Regions from separate parts of the Homo sapiens genome. Here region 1 is linked to region 2. Evidence: promoter capture Hi-C in 16 types of primary human blood cells and fetal thymus (Javierre and others, 2016). All regions are on one chromosome and are shown on one strand. Each heading gives the region's core, a stretch centred on a gene start or on the middle of the fragment in contact. The rest is flanking DNA. Distances are from core to core; before and after follow the strand shown.

What was found. Contacts are between HindIII fragments. The CHiCAGO score rates a contact against its expected background, and 5 or more counts as called.
Region 1: a fragment that was not itself captured here is called in contact with the fragment with the promoter of BMERB1 in region 2 in 1 of 17 cell types (neutrophils); the score reaches 6.0 in neutrophils.

The regions. Positions count from the first base shown.
Region 1 is chr16:15,653,639-15,658,602 of GRCh38, reverse strand. All of the region lies in intron 1 of NDE1 (nudE neurodevelopment protein 1), which reads right to left. Among named protein-coding and RNA genes, the nearest start is that of NDE1, 5.9 kb to the right of the region's middle. The HindIII fragment of the contact is 5,902 bases long and covers 1-4,964 here.
Region 2 is chr16:15,430,343-15,435,869 of GRCh38, reverse strand. It overlaps BMERB1 (bMERB domain containing 1), which reads right to left and starts at 1,282. Exons shown (of 6, transcript NM_033201.3): 1 at 1,111-1,282. The coding sequence starts at 1,216. The region is part of intron 1 of MPV17L-BMERB1 (MPV17L-BMERB1 readthrough); the gene reads right to left. RefSeq lists an enhancer at 356-978. The HindIII fragment of the contact is 15,111 bases long and covers 1-5,527 here.

The sequences.
Region 1 (4,964 bases), core at 1,438-3,937, 220 kb before region 2:
GACATGCATTCATTTTTCCATCTTCTGTGACAGCACAATATTCCCTTGGGAGAATACCCTACTCATTTCATGAGTTCAGAGGGATCTGACATCATCCTCCACACCTGGGAAGAGGCATATGCCTATTCACGACCTTAGTGATCAGCTCATGGGTGGGCCTAACCCACGATGAGCCAGTGACAGAGGTGGGCCTAATTCACGCAGAGCCAATGATAGGGTGAGCCTAACCCCCATGCTCAGCCAGTGACAGTCACGGATCTAACCCATGCTGAGCCAATGATTGGCTTAAGGATGGGCCTAACCCATACTAAGCCAGTGAGGGCCCAGGTCCAGACCTTTTGCATAGCTGTCAAAAATGAAACTCTCTTTCCACTAGGGTTGGTAAGGTAAGCCTGAAGCTGGAGGTAAGCCTGAAGCCGGAGGTAAGCCTGAAACTGCCGGTGGTCATCTTGCTATCACAAGGGAGAGCCTGCCTCAGAGTGAAGCCAAAACAGAGGAAAGCTGGGCCAAGGGATGGAGAGCCTGGGTCCTGACAATATCATTTGAACACCTAGATGCAGCCACACCTGATTTAAGGTTATGAGATAATCAATTCCTTGTCTTGGTTATACCAGTTGGGGTTAGATTTCTGCCACGCAGGAATCTTAATGAATGTATGGAATCAACGACCTTACTTGCTCAAAGTCAAAAGGGTAGAGTGGTGCCTGGCGCAATGGCTCATGCCTGTAATCCCAGCCCTTTGTGAGGCCGAGGCAGACAGATCACTTGAGGTCAGGAGTTTGAGACCAGCCTGGGCAACATGGTGAAACCCCGTGTCTACTAAAAAAACAAAAACAAAAATCAAACGGGCACGGCGGTGCGTGCCTGTAGTCCCAGCTACTCAGAAGGATGAAGCAGGAAAAATCACTTAAGCCTGAGAAGCGGAGGCTGCAGTGAGCCAAGATCACTGCATTCCAGCCTCCCAGCCTGGGCGACAGAACAAGACCCCATCTCAAAAAAATAAAAAGGGGGTAGAGTGTTAATAGCAGTCATTAACAAGGCCAGGAGCAGCATAAACCTAGGCCAAGGAGTCCCTGCTCAAGCCATAAGCTCTAATGAGCCCAGATCTCATGTAATATGTACTCATCAAACCAATTCTATAGCAACAATAGCCCAGGGCCAAGGCATCTATCAATGAGCACTGTGTGGCCATTAAGATATTGGTGGCTGGGTGCGTTGGCTCATGCCTGTAATCCCAACACTTTGGGAAGCCAAGGCGGGTGGTTCACCTGAGGTCAGGAGTTCAAGACCAGCCTGGCCAACATGGTGAAACTCCATTTCCACTAAAAATACAAGAAATTAGCCAGGTGTGGTGGCAGGCTCCTGTAACCCCAGCTACTCGGAAGACTGAGGCAGGAAAATCGCTTGAACCCAGGAGGCGGAGGTTGCAGTGAGCCAAGATCACGCCATTGCACTCCAACCTGGACGACAAGAGTGAAACTCTGCCTCAAAAAAAAAAAACAAAAAAAGACATTGGTGATACTATTGAGGGCAGTCTCAGTCCCATGGTATGGAAGGTTGTCAGCATACAATAAAGTGCGGAAGTGAGGAACCAGTAACAACAAAAGCAGAATGACTCCTCCTGAGGTTTGGAAAAAGATGTGCAAGATCCAATGTGATCAGGCCCCTGCATAGTTTTCTACACATTTCTTACCCTACCACCTCTCATTCACTTATGTCCCAGCCACACTGCCTTCTTTCTCTTCCTTGAACACCCAAGCCTGGCAGGGTGCTGTGGCTCATGCCTGTAATCCTGATACTTTGGGAGGCCACAGCGGGTAGATCACTTGAAGCCAGGAGTTCGAGACCAGCCTGGCCAACATGGTAAAACCCCATCTCTGCTAAAAATACAAAAATTAGCTGGGCATGGTGGCACATGCCTGTAATCCCATCTACTCAGGAGGCTGAAACAGAAGAAACTCTTGAACCCGGGAGGTGGAGGTTCCAGTGAGCAGAGATCCTGCCACTGCACTCCAGCCTGGGTGACAGAGCAAGACTCCATCTCAAAAAAAGAAAAGAGTAATAATAATAATAATAATAATAAAAGAAAAGAGCCTCTTAAAACACTGTTATCTTGGCCAGGAAGGTTTAAAAACTTAATCCTCAGGAAAGAAATGAATCTGAGATGCTTTAGGAGGTGCGTCTATTGTGGGGCAGGTTCTAATTACAACGGGCCAATGGGAGGGATCTGGTTTTGGATTTCAAGGACTGAGGAGAAAATAAGCAGAGAACTGGATTTGTATCACAGCCTGCAAAATCTTTCACTCCAACCAAGAGACAAAAACCACAGGAACAGCATTTCAACCAAAAACTCTTACATTTTAAAAGCAATCCTTAGGGAAGAGAGATGCTGGAAGCAAAGAAGGAAGAAGTAACAGCTGCACTTCACTTTATCATAAAACAGCAATCTTTTTTTTTCTTTTTCTTTATTATTATTATACTTTAAGTTTTAGGGTACATGTGCACAATGTGCAGGTTAGTTACATATGTATACATGTGCCATGCTGGTGTGCTGCACCCACTAACTCGTCATCTAGCATTAGGTATATCTCCCAATGCTATCCCTCCCCCCTCCCCCCACCCCACAACAGTCCCCAGAGTGTGATGTTCCCCTTCCTGTGTCCATGTGTTCTCGTTGTTCAATTCCCACCTATGAGTGAGAATATGCGGTGTTTGGTTTTTTGTTCTTGCAATAGTTTACTGAGAATGATGATTTCCAATTTCATCCATGTCCCTACAAAGGACATGAACTCATCATTTTTTATGGCTGCATAGTATTCCATGGTGTATATGTGCCACGTTTTCTTAATCCAGTCTATCATTGCTGGACATTTGGGTTGGTTCCAAGTCTTTGCTATTGTGAATAATGCCGCAATAAACATACGTGTGCATGTGTCTTTATAGAAGCATGATTTATAGTCCTTTGGGTATATACCCAGTAATGCGATGGCTGGGTCAAATGGTATTTCCAGTTCTAGATCCCTGAGGAATCACCACACTGACTTCTACAATGGTTGAACTAGTTTACAGTCCCACCAACAGTGTAAAAGTGTTCCTATTTCTCCACATCCTTAAAAGTATAAGATTTTTGCCTTTGCCATTCAAAAATGTCAGAGAGAGGCCGGGCACGATGGCTCACGCCTGTAATCCCAGCACTTTGGCAGACTGAGGTGGGCAGATTGCTTGAGCCCAGGAGTTTGAGACCAGCACAAGGTGAACCCCGTCTCTACTAAAAATACACAAATCAGCAGGGCGTCACGATGCACGCCTGTAGTCCCAGCACTTTGGGAGGCTGAGGTGGGTGGATTGCTTGAGCCCAGGGGTTCAAGACCAGCCTGGGCAACATGGTGAAACCCTGTCTCTACTAGAAACACAAAAATTAGCCAGGTGTGGTAGAGCGCACCTATAATTCCAGCTACTTGGGTGGCTGAGGCCCAAGAATTGCTTGAACCCAGAGGCAGAGGTTGCAGTGAGCAGAAATTGTACCACTGCACTCCAGCCTGGGCACAAGAGCAAGACTCTGTCTCAAAAAATAAATAAATAAACAACATGAAAACGTCAGAAAGTTCTATTGCAGTACTCTCTGTGGCAGAAAGCAGGCAACATGACTTGCAAGGGTTCTCTTATTTTATCAGCATTAAGTACTGAATTTGACCTTCTGTTTGCTGTGTGCTAGACATTTCAAAAATTGTTTGCAAACATTATCTTCTTTAAGCTGTGTGACTGTAAGAGATGGCTAAACAGGACAACCACTCTGTTTCTTGGAAGCAGAAACACCGTATGCCTTGGCCATCTCTAAATGTGCATGTGAGCAGCAGAGGCAAACTAGATCCAAGTTCAAGGGATCTTTGCATTCAAGTCCAAGGCTTCCCAGGGGTTGCAAACTGACTGACTGCAGATCAGATTCACTTGTTTCATTTGGTCCAGTTTTGTTTTTTTTTTTTTTGTTTTTTTTTTTTTTGAGTCGGAATCTCTTTCTCTGTTGCCCAGGCTGGAGTGCAGTGGTGTGATCTCAGCTCACTGCAACCTCTGCCTCGCAGCTTCAAGCGATTCTCCTACCTCAGCGTCCCTAGTACCTCGGATTACAGGTGCATGCCACCACGACTGGCTAATTTTTTGTATTTTTAGGAGAGACGGGGTTTCGCCACGTTGGCCAGGCTGGTCTCGATCTCCTGACCTCAGGTGATCTGCCCACCTAGGCCTCCCAAAGTGCTGGGATTACAGGTGTGAGCCATTGCACCCGGCCCTCACATAGTGTTTTAAAAGGCACTGTAATAGGCAAGTGTTAATGCCTGGTCTCAGTATATACAACTTTGCACCTGCTATCTTAAAAATGCACCCCACATGCATTTATTTCATCTGTGTGCCACTAACCTGCGTTCTTAATACGCCACCACACCATCATGCCCCAGCAGCTCTGTAGACAAATCTGATGGGATCATGCAAGGAACAATGACAAACTAGGACCCAGTGGTACAAAAAGTATCTATTTTGCACAACAGAGATCTATGCCTCCTTCAAAAATTTGTTTCCGGCCGGGTGTGGTGGCTCATGCCTGTAATCCCAGCACTTTGGGAGGGTGAGGCAGGCAGATCACCTGAGGTCAGCAGATAAGAGACCAGCCTGGGCAACATGGTGAAACCCCATCTCTACCAAAAACACAAAAAAATTAGCCAGGTGTGGTGATGCACACCTGTGGTCCCAGCTACTCAGGAGGCTGAGGTGGGAGGATCACTTGAGCATGGGAGGCGGTGGTTGCAGTGAGCCGAGATCGCCCCACAGCACTCCAGCCTGTGTGACAGAGCGAGAACCCGTCTCAAAAAAAAAAAATTGTTTCCACATGCTTTTTTTTTTTTTGCATGTTTTACATGATTAAAGCTAACAAAAAAGTCTGAAAATACACTCGAGACACACACCTCTGATTT
Region 2 (5,527 bases), core at 33-2,532:
ACATTGGATTGTGATTTCAACTTCAACCCGTCAGAATCAGAACACAGTTGAGCCCTTCTAGGAAGATTTTCTAAATCCATAATTACAGGTATAGAGAAAGAAAGCGCGCACACACAATTTTCCACCAGGTGAGGACAGAATAAGATCACATTCACAATACTTTAGCCCTACATCGCTCAGAGATCCGTGCTGGGGCAGAGCGCGGAGCAGTGACCCAGAGCCGAGGCAGGAAGCTGCCGGGTCCCTGAGAAGGACCTCTCCTTCCCAGCCTGGTGGGCAAGCCATGTGAGAGCAGCGGCTTTGGGGAGCCCCCGGGTTTGCAGGGACCTCCAGTGACCCTGGAGCCCCTGACGCTGCCTCTACACTTTGAGGGCAGGAGTTTCAACTATTGTATCCTATTAATGAAAAACAAAATCCTTCGTTTACTTAGAAATGTTGACATCCAAACACCGCAGAGAGAACCAGTAAATAAATACAGCCGGTCTATTTCGAAACTGCCTTCTAGAGTTGTGCCCAAGCAGACTTTAACTGAGTCAAGAGAGAAAAGAGAACGGTGTGTGCCTTTTGACCCTTTTGCCGCCCCAAGCCTCCCACCCCGACCCAAGGAAGGCGAGGGAGGAAAAGCTGGGAATTTCAGGTGCGCTCCGAAACCTCACGCAGGGGGTAGGAAAGCAAGCGGAAAACCAGCAGACACTCCCCCCTCTCCAGGGACGTGGGCGCTTTCCAGGACGGTCCCGCGTCTCCAGCGCCCTGGCGCATCCCAGGCGGAGAGAGGATCCTCCTCCCTGGGCTGTGGGAGAGACCCGACTTCACAGGACCAGCTGCGAGCTGACGGATCCGGGACTCCTAAGTCGAGCCCAGGCTCCTGCCTTAGCTGCCTGGCCATCTCCCAACCCTCCCAGTGAGGCTCAGCCCGGAGGGTCCCCCCCTTTTGTTCGCGGGGAGAGCGCGTCGCTGCGCAGAGCTGCGTATCCCCCTGAGCTGCCAGCCCCGCTGCGGGGGCGCTTCCCTGGGTCCACTGCTGGCGTTCCTCGCGCTCCCGCGACCACCCGCGCAGGCGCATGGATCCCCAGCTGTCCCCGGCCCCCCGCCCCCCGCCCCAGTACTCACTTCTCCCCAGTCTCTCCGTTTTCCAAGCCGTCTCCTCCACCGCCCCATAGCGCCTCAGAGGCTTCTCGGCTTCCAGATGGGTGGACAAAGATTGCTTTAATTCCATCGCTGATCCCCGTGGCCAGGTCGACGGGTCTCCCTTTACTCCATTCCCGTTGCGGGCTGCAGGGAGGGAGGTGGCTCCAGCCAGCAGCGTTTTAACGGGCCGGGCGCCCGTGACGCTGCTCCCTCTCCTCCGCCGCCGCCAGCGCCCGGGAGCGCCTACGGGTACCCAGAAGGGGCAGGGATGCACGGCACATGCGCAGTGGAGGCTTGGAGGGGAGGCTTGGGGGCTGGGTAGGGAGACAGAGGGGCAGGTGATAACTCTAAGAAAAACAACAAACAAAACAACTAAAATAAAAGCAACACAAAGGAAGTGAGAACAAGGCCCCTGCCTATTCTAGAGCCCCTAGTGATGCTTGGCATGGGGCTGGCACTGTGGGCGGCTTGCGAGCTGTAAGCCGGCAGCGGGTTTTGAGTGGGATTGGTGAGCCCGTCTCTACCTGCGGGCGATGCATCCGTCTTTCTGGGGAGCATGCAGAGGCGTGAGTGTGGACCTAGATCTATGGGTTCTGGGCTTGGCTGACTGCTTTTCTGTGAGAATATCTGTCGTGTGCGTCTGTTTAATTTGAAGTGCGACAGTGGATGCCTATGTCAGTTCCATATGTGTTTGCATGCACTTTGGGGAGAGAGAGAGAGAGATGAAAATATTTTGCACACAGGTATAGCAGAGCTGTTTGGAGCATGGGGCTTTACTTTCCAGAAACCCCAGAGGTTTATCTTTAAAAACAAACAAACAAACAAACAAAAAACACCATGGCAGTGCCTGGGCACGATGGCTCATGCCTGTAATCCCAGCACTTTGGGAGGCCGAGGTGGGTGGATCACTTGAGGCCAGGAGTTTGAGACTAGCCTGGCCAACATGGTGAAACCCCATCTTTACTGAAAATACAAAAATTAGCCAGCTGTGATGGCGCAGGCCTGTAATTCCAGCTACTCGGGAGGCTGAGGCAGGAGAATCGCTTGAACCTGGGAGGCAGAGGTTTCAGTCATCCGAGATCATGCCATTGCACTCCAGCCTGGGCAACAAGAGGAAAACTCCGTCTCAAAAAAAGAAAAGAAACGAAAAAAAGAAAATGATATCCCAGTAGGAAACAGGGAAAGAATATGAATAGTCATGTCATGTGGGCAGAGGAGGAAGGCCTAATGTGAGAAGCTGCTCAACCCCCTTAGTAATAAGGAAAATGAAAATGTAAATAAGAATATATCATCCGATAGGCAAAAACTAAAAAATCTAACAATCATGTGTTGTAAAAGATGTGGATTTTTTTTTTGAGACAGAGTCCAAAAATGCTGGGGTTACAGATGTGAGACACCATGCCTGGCATAATTTGAACTTTTATCTAATGCTAGTGGGAGTATAAATTGGTACAACTGTTTTTTTCTCTCTGTCACCCAGGCTGGAGTGCAGTGGCATAGTCTCGGCTCACTGAAACCTCCACCTCCTGGGTTCAAGCTCCTGAGTAGCTGCGACTACAGGCGTGCCACCATGCCCAGCTAATTTTTTGTATTTTTAATGGAGATGTGGTTTCACCATGTTGGCCAGGCTGGTCTCGAACTCCTGAGCTCAAGTGATCTGCCCGCCTTGGTCTCCCAAAGTGCTGAGACTACAGGAATGAGCCACTGTGCCTGGCTGCATGAATGTAATGTTTATTGTTCTCAGGTATATATGTATAACTCTACAAATTATATATAATAGCGCTATTTAACATTTTCTTATAATTTATACAAATGATATCATACTTTATAATTCTGCAAGTTGCTTTTTTCTGTTGTTGTTCCACAATATGCTTTTCTTCCTTTTAAAAAGATAGAGACAGGTTTTCACTGTGTTGCTCAGGCTGGTCTTGAATTCCTGGGCTCAAGTGATCCACCTGCCTCAGCCTGCCAAAGTGCTAGGATTACAGGCGTGAGCCACCGTGCCCGGCCCACATTATGCTTTTGAGAAATACGAATTCTGATTCATGTAACTCTGGTTCATAGTCTACTGTATAGTATTCTACATGAATGAACCATAATTGGTCTATTTTTTCATTGATGAGGTATAAAGATTATTCCCAATTGTCCACAATTACAAACATGGCAGCAGCAAATGTTTTTATACTCATTTCCCTGTACGACTGAATAGGAGTTTTTCTAGGGGGAAAAATTACAATGGCATGGGGTATGCACATCTGCCAGTTGGACTAGAGTGTCAACCTGCTTTTAAAATTAGTTGTACCAGGCCAGGCACAGTGGCTCACGCCTGTAATCCCAGCACTTTGGGAGGCTGAGGCGGGCGGTTAGTCTGAGGTCAGGAGTTCGAGACCAGCCTGGCCAACATGCTGAAACCCCGTCTCTACTAAAAATACAAAAAAAAAAAAAAAAAAAAAAATTAGCCGGGCCTGGTGGCGCACACCTGTAATTCCAGCTACTCAGGAGGTTGAGGCAGGAGAATCACTTGAACCCGTGGGACGGAGGTTGCAGTGAACTGAGATCATGACACTGCACTCCAGCCTCAGTGACAGTGAGACGCTGTCTCAAAAAAAAAAAAAAAAAACAATAAACATTACATTCAGGATAGTAATTACTTTAGGAGGCTGGGAAAGGGTAAGTAGTTAGTTTCAGCTATATCTAAAATTTATATATTTTTAAACTATTTACAGTATTTTGAAAATTTTTAAATCTACAGAAAAGTTGCAAGTTTAGTACAATAAGAAAAATACAGACCTTGGCCAGGTGCGGTGGCTCATGCCTATAATCCCAGCACTTTGGGAGGCTAAGGTGGGAGGAATCCTTGAGCTCAGGAGTTCGAGACCAGCCTGGGCAGCAAAGCAGTTTTCCATCTCTACAAAAATTAAAACATTAACCAGGTGTGGTGGCACACACCTATAATTCCAGATACTCAGGAGGCTGAGGTAGGAGGACTGCTTGGGCCTGGGAGGTCGAGGCTACAGTGAGGCAAGACCACACCACTCTACTCCAACCTAGATGACAGAGTGAGACCCTGTCTCCAAAATACACACACACACACATATATATATATAGTTTGTGTGTGTATATATACAGTATGTGTATATATACGTTATTTTATATAATATGTATGTTATTTTCTTGTATATGTGTGTGTATATATACAATATATATATATATACACACGCACACACATCCCTTACTAGATTCACTAATGAATATTTAAATTTATATTTCTTAAAAGAGATCTGAAGCATATATGTTAAAATCTGTTGGAGATGGCTGGTGGGCACTACACCCTTACCAGAATGACTAAAATTAAAAAGACTGACAATACCAAATGTTAGTCCAGATGCTAGTAAATAAATGAGTTAGCAGTTAGTAAGAATGTAACTACAATTTATTGCTGTTCGGAGTATAAAATGGTACTACCACTTTAGAAAATGAGAGATAATGGCTGGGCGTGGTGACTCACGCCTGTAATCCTAGCACTTTAGGAGGCTGAGGTGGGCGGATCACCTGAGGTCAGGGGTTCAAGACCAGCCCAACATGGCAAAACCTCGTCTGTGCTAAAAAAATTCAAAAATTAGCCAGGCGTGATGGCACATGCCCGTAATCCCAGCTACTCAGGAGACTGAGGCAGGAGAATCGCTTGAACCCGGGAGGCAGAGATTGCAGTGAACTGAGATTGCGCCACTGCATTCCAGCGTGGGCGACAGAGTGAGACTGTCTCAAAATAAAAAAGAAAGAAATAAAAAAAGACTGGCAATACCCTCTAAAGCTACAAATACATATATATTTTTCTGTCTGGCAGCAATTCTATTCCTGGATATATCCCTAAGAGAAATACATACTTGTGTCCACCAATGTTAAGAGCTTTACTCATAATGACAAGAAATGAAAACAACTCAAATGTCTATCAACAATAGAATGGACAAAAATTATGCTATATTCATACAACTGAATCTGCACAGCAACGAAAAAGACCAAACTACTGGCCAGGCACAATGGCTCACACCTGTAATCCTAGCACTTGAGGAGGCTGAGGTGGGCAAATCGCTTGAGCCCAGGAGTTCGAGACCAGCCTGGGCAACATGGCAAAATCCCTTCTCTACAAAAAATACAAAAATTAGCCAGGCATGGGTGGTGTGTGCCTGTAGTCTTAGCTACTCAGGAGGCTGAGGCAGGAGGATCACTTGAGCGTGGGAGGTTCAGGCTGCAGTGAGCCGTGATCATGCCACTGCACTCCAGCCTGGGCCACAGAGTGAAACCCTGTCTCACAAAAAAAAAAAAAAAAAAACAAACAAATTACTACCAACAAAATGGATGAATCTTACAGACATAATATATAAATAAAAGGGTGTGT